Regions from separate parts of the Homo sapiens genome. Here region 1 is linked to region 2. Evidence: promoter capture Hi-C in human tissues and cell types (Jung and others, 2019). All regions are on one chromosome and are shown on one strand. The core of a region is centred on a gene start or on the middle of the fragment in contact, and the rest is flanking DNA. Distances in the headings are between cores, read along the strand shown.

Region 1 (2,871 bases), core at 307-2,806, 1.2 Mb before region 2:
AGCTACAATGAGTCAGGGACCCCAGTAACATCATCAGCTCACTTAGAGCCCATTTGGCTAAAGAGGAAATTGAGACACAGTTAAGCAATCTCCAGGGTCACACAGCATCTAATGTGTGTGGGCCAAATCTCTGTCCCTTCATCACCAAGTTCCCTCCACACTCTCCAGAGCCTGCCATGTGGATGCAGCACAGACTTCTCAGGCGCCACACTATACCCAGGCCACCAAGTCAAAGAACAGCACTCCAGGCCGAGGGAACGACCAGTGCAAAAGTTCTAAACAGAGGACACGCCTGGCAAGCTGAAGGAATGGCAGGGAGGCCAGCGTGCCGGGGCCAAGTGAGCAGGGAGTGGTCAGAGAGAAAGTCCGAGAACAACGGGATCAGATGGTGGAGGTCTTGGGGACCTGATGAGAACTTTGGCTTTAATCAGAGTGAAGCAGGGGGTTACTGCAGGCTCTTGAGCAGAGGAGTGGCAGGAACTGACTTAAGTTTTAAAGAGATTCCTTTGGCTGTTGTGTGGAATACAGATTGGAAGTGGGGAGCAAGGGGGAAAACAGGGAGCCCTAGTCCAGGTGAAAGAAACTGGTGGTTTGCACCAGAATGATGGTGGCAGAGGCAGAGGTTGTGAGAAGTGGCCAGATTCTAGAGACATTTTAAAGGCAGGGCAACCAGGATTTCCTGACAAATTGAGGTGGGATCTGAGAGAGAGGAGTCAAGGCTGACCCTGGGGACTGAGCATAGGGAATGGTGGTGTTGCTTCCACCGAGATGGGGATACTGCGGGGGAGTGAATAGCGGGTGGGGCACAGCAGGAATTTTGAGGAGGCGATTGGAAACCTGGACCTGGGATTTAAGAGTGAGGACAGGACTGAAGATGCAAATGTGGGAGCCTTCAGCACATAGATGGCATTTAAAGTCAGGGCTGGTGAGTAGACTGAAGACGATGCATGTACATTTCAGGGCCCCTGCACTCAGTAAGCCCTTGGCAAATGATGGCCAAGCGGCCGTTGATGAGGCGGCTGTCGTCGAGACGTGATCCTGGGGTTAAGCTGTGAAGGATAAAAAAGCACAAGAAACAGTGTGCACAAAGGGGGTGTGAGCAGGGTCCTCCCACCTCCCAGCCCAGCCTCCGTCCTCTCCCACCTGGACAACAATACCACCCACCTCCTCCTGCTGCCCTTCTCATCCTTACTCCCTCCCTAGCTAATGCTGGTATTTTGCAAAAAGTGCGGGCTTGGCACCTGGGCAGATCTGGTCCTGGGCAAGTGCCTCACTTTCCCCATCTGTAGTCTGTGCCAGAGCATGGGACCAGGACCCACAGGGAAGGGATCAGATCCAGTATGAATCCACCCAGACAGATCACAGGGCCCACCCCAGCTCAAGAAGTTCCCCCAGTGACCAGAGGCATGCTCCTTGCTCTCCCTGACCCCTACTCTTTTTTTTTTTTTTTTGAGATGGAGTCTCGTTCTGTTGCCCAGACTGGAGTGCAGTAGTGCAGTCTCGGCTCACTGCAAGCTCCACCTCCCGGGTTCATGCCATTCTCCTGCCTCAGCCTCCCGAGTAGCTGAGACCACAGGCATCCGCCACCATACTCGGCTAATTTTTTGTATTTTTGGTAGAGGTGGAATTTCACCGTGTTAGCCAGGATGGTCTTGATCTCCTGAGCTCGTGATCTGCCCGCCTCGGCCTCCCAAAGTGCTGGGATTACAGGTGTGAGCCACCGCACCCGGCCTCTGACCCCTACTCTTTACATCTGGAAGTTGGGTGATGGAGCCATTCATCATCTAGACATAGAACTACCTGAGAGAAGGATTAACTTACGGTCCTTGTGTGGCCAGATGCGGCTGAGAACAAACAAACAATCAAAAGGCAATCACAGCCAGGCGCTGTGGCTCACGTCTGTAATCCTAGCACTTTGGGAGGCCAAGGCGGGCAGATCACCTGAGGTCAGGAGTTCGAACCCAGCCTGGCCAACATGGTGAAACCCCATCTCTATGAAAAATACAAAAATTAGCCGGGCATGGTGGCTCATGCCTGTAATCTCAGCTACTCAGGAGGCTGAGGCAGGAGAATTGCTTGAATCCAGGAGGTGGAGGTTGCAGTGAGCTGAGATCAAGCCACTGCACTCCAGCCTGGGCGATAGAGCAAAAGTCTCCATCTCAAAAAAAAAAAAAAAAGAAAAGAAAAGAAAAAAAAAGGAGGTGGAGGGCAATCACATGCATAAAGCTTCTTCACACAGAGCCTGGCACACAGGAGGTGAACAATGACCATGCTCTCTCACCTACCCTCAGAGCTGACTTGCAGGGGGGCAGTTGGAATCGAGGTCCTCAAAGCCCATAGAAGTAATTATAAGAGTACTAAAAACAGTCAACATCTGCAGCTTTTCCCTGCGCCAAACACTAAACCCTGCAATAACTCATTTATTCTTAACTACTCTGTGAGCTTGGTCCTCTCGTTACCCCCATTATCAGGGTGTGGAAACTGAGGTCAGAGACATGAAGAAATTTGCAGTAGGTTGTACAGCTAGGAGCTGTCGGGCCTTGAAACCCTCAGTCATTCTGCCTCTGAGCTTCCTGATGGGCCTGGGTACTGTCCTGTGAGCCGTGGGAAGGGAGGTGACCTGGGAAGCAGGTGAGTCCGGCTCATAGGTGAGGCCCCCGTCGCTTCCTTCCTCCTACCTCTCTGTGCCCACAGCTGGCTGCCGCTTAGGAAACCATAGGGTTAATCTAATTGGAGGTTCCAGGATCGTGCATGCACAGGGTGATTTATTTTATTTTAAAAAGCTTAAAAAAGAAACCACCCTGTCAAGTCTTGTTTAGAAAACTGGACATTCTGAAAATATTGGTGAAGAGAGGGGGCTGCACCCCTTAG
Region 2 (3,210 bases), core at 280-2,779:
ACTTTGGAACCAAGTTACATCTCTTGGGTTTGAATACAGGCTTCATCATTTCCTAGCTGTAAGACCTTGGGCAGCTGGGTACGGCTGTGTAATCCCAGCACTTTGGGAGGCTGAGGTGTGGGAATCACCTGAGGTCAGGAGTTCAAGACCAGCCTGGCCAACATGGTGAAATCCTGTCTCTACTAAAAATACAAAAATTAGCCAGGTGTGGTGGCAGGCGCCTGTAGTCCCAGCTACTTGGGAGTCTGAGGCATGAGAATCACTTGAACCTGGGAGGCAGAGGTTGCAGTGAGCTGAGATCACGCCACTGCACTCCAGCTTGGGAAACAGAGCAAGACTCCGTCTCAAAAAAAAAAAAGAAGACCTGCGGCAAATTACTTTTTCCTACATCCTAAGGTAATTGTGATAATTAAGTGAAGTAATATGTGTAGAGCCCTTAGAACTTTACAATATTTGTAAAACCCTTAGAAGTTATAAAAATTATTTAATATTTAAATAATTTAATGAATGTACTTAATTCATTTAGTATTATGTATAAATATAAAATTATTTTATATTTGTAAAGCCCTTAGAACCGTGCCTGGCACACAGTAAAGCTCTGTTTGCAAATAATATTTTGGCTCACCAGTAGACCACTAGTTCATACTGCTTGATGATAAGCTATTCCGCCTCATTCGTCCTTGACCCCCTAAACAGGTCTATGCCTTGGTTGCTGGGAAGGTGTGTTGGCTTTATTAACAGTAATAGTGATATGTCCTTTTACCAGGCAATTGCATGGACCAGTATTTATAGGGAAGTTTGAGCCCTGCCGCAGAGGGGTTAAGTGATGGGAAAATGCCTGCCATTTTCACATGCTGTTACAACCAGGCAGTAAAAGTCCTCAGAAGTTAAATTTTAAGTAATCAGACTGGCCACTTTCCTTCCTCTGGGAATGCAGTTGGGATGGAGGGCTCTGTCTCTAGTTGGAAAGAAGTCTGAAGTCCCCTCCTGTGTGGACACCAGACAACAGGTATCCCAGGGCCCTCTAGTTGACCAGCAATACTGTGGAATGAAGACACCCTCAAGTCACATTTGAAATCATTCCGGGTTCTTCCAGTTCAGCACCTTGACTGTTTTCCTCTTCACTGGGAAGGTGCTGGCAGCCTGACGGCCTTTTAGGCTTCTTTTAAGTTTGGGGCATCTGAAACCCGGCCAAGGTGCGGCGGGTAGTGTACTCATTCGAAGGAGAATACCCCCAATTCACTAGACGAGCCCCTAATTGGGGGTGCGGTGCCGGGCGCGCTCTTTCCTCCCCCTTTCCACCAGCACTGCCCTCAGTTCTGCTTCTAGCCACGCCCTTTCGCGTTCACGTCCAGCGCCCTGGCGGGATTGATTTGAGGACGACTGGACTGCCATTGCGCCTGCGCAGGGAGCCCAAGGCAAGAGCCGCTAGGCTGCCCTGCCCGAAGGGCTCAACTGTCAGTGAGCCTGCGCAGGAGGCCAATAGGCTGCCAATACTCCTTGGACTCCCCGCCAGGGCCCTGCTGTCAGTGCGCCTGCGCGCGGGTCCGGCGCCGAGGTTCTTGACTGCTGTGCCGGACGCCAGGTGTAGCCATGCAGCGAGCCGATTCCGAGCAGCCCTCCAAGCGTCCCCGTTGCGATGACAGCCCGAGAACCCCCTCAAACACCCCTTCCGCAGAGGCAGACTGGTCCCCGGGCCTGGAACTCCATCCCGACTACAAGACATGGGGTCCGGAGCAGGTGTGCTCCTTCCTCAGGCGCGGTGGCTTTGAAGAGCCGGTGCTGCTGAAGAACATCCGAGGTAGCGGCTCCGGAGGGGCTGAGGGGCGAAGGGCGGCGACCTGGGGCGCGGGCCAGGCGCCCTGAGGGAGGGGGCCCCACGAGAGGACCGAGGCCGAGGAGCGAGCCCTGCGGCGGGAGGCACCCGGGAGGGCGGACCTGCGCTGGGGGCGCCGAGGAAAGGAAGACCCGAGGCGGGGGAGGGAGCCCTGCGGCGGGGGTTCCCAGGAGGGCCTGCGGCATGGGGCTCCCGGGACTGACTCCCCGAGGCGGAGGAAGAAGACATGGGGTCGCCTGGGATAGGCGATTCGTAGGATGGGAGCAGGCTCCCGGGATTGAGGACCTGGGAGGGGCAGTCGTAGATTGGGATCTCACTCTCGTGGGTTTCTTCACTAACTTGCCACCCCGGCGCGGGACAAGCGAGACTCGGGTCCCTTTTTTTTAGTTAGAAGGAGATTTTTCCCCAGACCTTGGTGGGCGGCTTGCTGTCATCCAGGCTCGCGGGACCCCTCCGCGCTAACCGCAGCTCCTTGAACACTTGCCACATCAGAGGATGTTCTGGGGCTTTTAGGTTTCGGTTTCCTCCCTGAATTGAGGCTTTTCCTGAAGGGGAAGGAACTGGCTTGGTTAATCTCTGAATTCCCATCACCTTCCTTGGCATCCCAGCAGCGCCCGATAGGCGTGTGTTGACTGCACTTGCAGAACATGGTAAGGAACATGTTTTGCTCTTTAAAAGCAGGTTCCCCTCCAAAATCTGAACCTTGGGGTTGTTCAGTTGACCACTGAATCCCCAGCATGCCACAGTTTGGCCACATCCCCTGGAGAAGTGTTTAGGTTGAGTTTTAATCATATTTTACTGATTCGTATCCAAGCATCCATCCTTGTGAATTCTACTCAACTTTTTGTGGTGGGTGTGAGATTTGACTCCTGCCTTATATCCTCTAGGTGTCCAATAGGAAGGTGATTCTTTGGTGGTTGGGATTTGCAAATTTAGTAAATTTTTGCATTTGTTAGGTGGGGCCCTGTTTGGCTAGGTTGGAAACTGGGGTAGGAGGAACATTAGTGGTTCAGGACCCAAAGATAGCTTGAATGGGTATGGGAAATTGCATTTCTCCTTTTTTTTTTTTCTTCCCCCTTTTGCCCTTTCGTTTCCCTCCACTGCTGGGATGGATTATTACTTTATTTTCTTTGACTAGCAACAAGTGGAGTGAAGTAGTTCCATATTTTCTGTCTCAAAATGTGGTTGGCTCTCTGTTTCAGTGGTTTGTAGATTAACTCGTTACCCTCCAGAATGATGTGTGTTCCTTAAACCTACAACCTATTGCTATCAAAGACACTATGTGCTTTCATTTGGTAAAAACTGACCAACTGTTCCCAATTGCTCATGTCTTAGCTTCTGCTTTGTCTTGACCAAACTTTATTCGGACTTCT

Evidence for each region. The method cuts DNA at HindIII sites, captures the fragments that hold promoters and counts their contacts. A contact is called where the count stands out against the background at its distance.
Region 1: a contact is called between a fragment that was not itself captured here and the fragment with the promoter of SAMHD1 in region 2, in 1 of the 25 tissues and cell types used here (heart right ventricle).

Annotation. Positions count from the first base shown.
Region 1 is chr20:38,175,593-38,178,463 of GRCh38, reverse strand. No RefSeq gene overlaps it. Among named protein-coding and RNA genes, the nearest start is that of TGM2, 12 kb to the right of the region's middle. The HindIII fragment of the contact is 5,193 bases long and covers 1-2,871 here.
Region 2 is chr20:36,950,027-36,953,236 of GRCh38, reverse strand. SAMHD1 (SAM and HD domain containing deoxynucleoside triphosphate triphosphohydrolase 1) reads left to right here and starts at 1,529. Exons shown (of 16, transcript NM_015474.4): 1 at 1,529-1,801. The coding sequence starts at 1,594. RefSeq lists a silencer at 1,815-2,034. The HindIII fragment of the contact is 37,170 bases long and covers 1-3,210 here.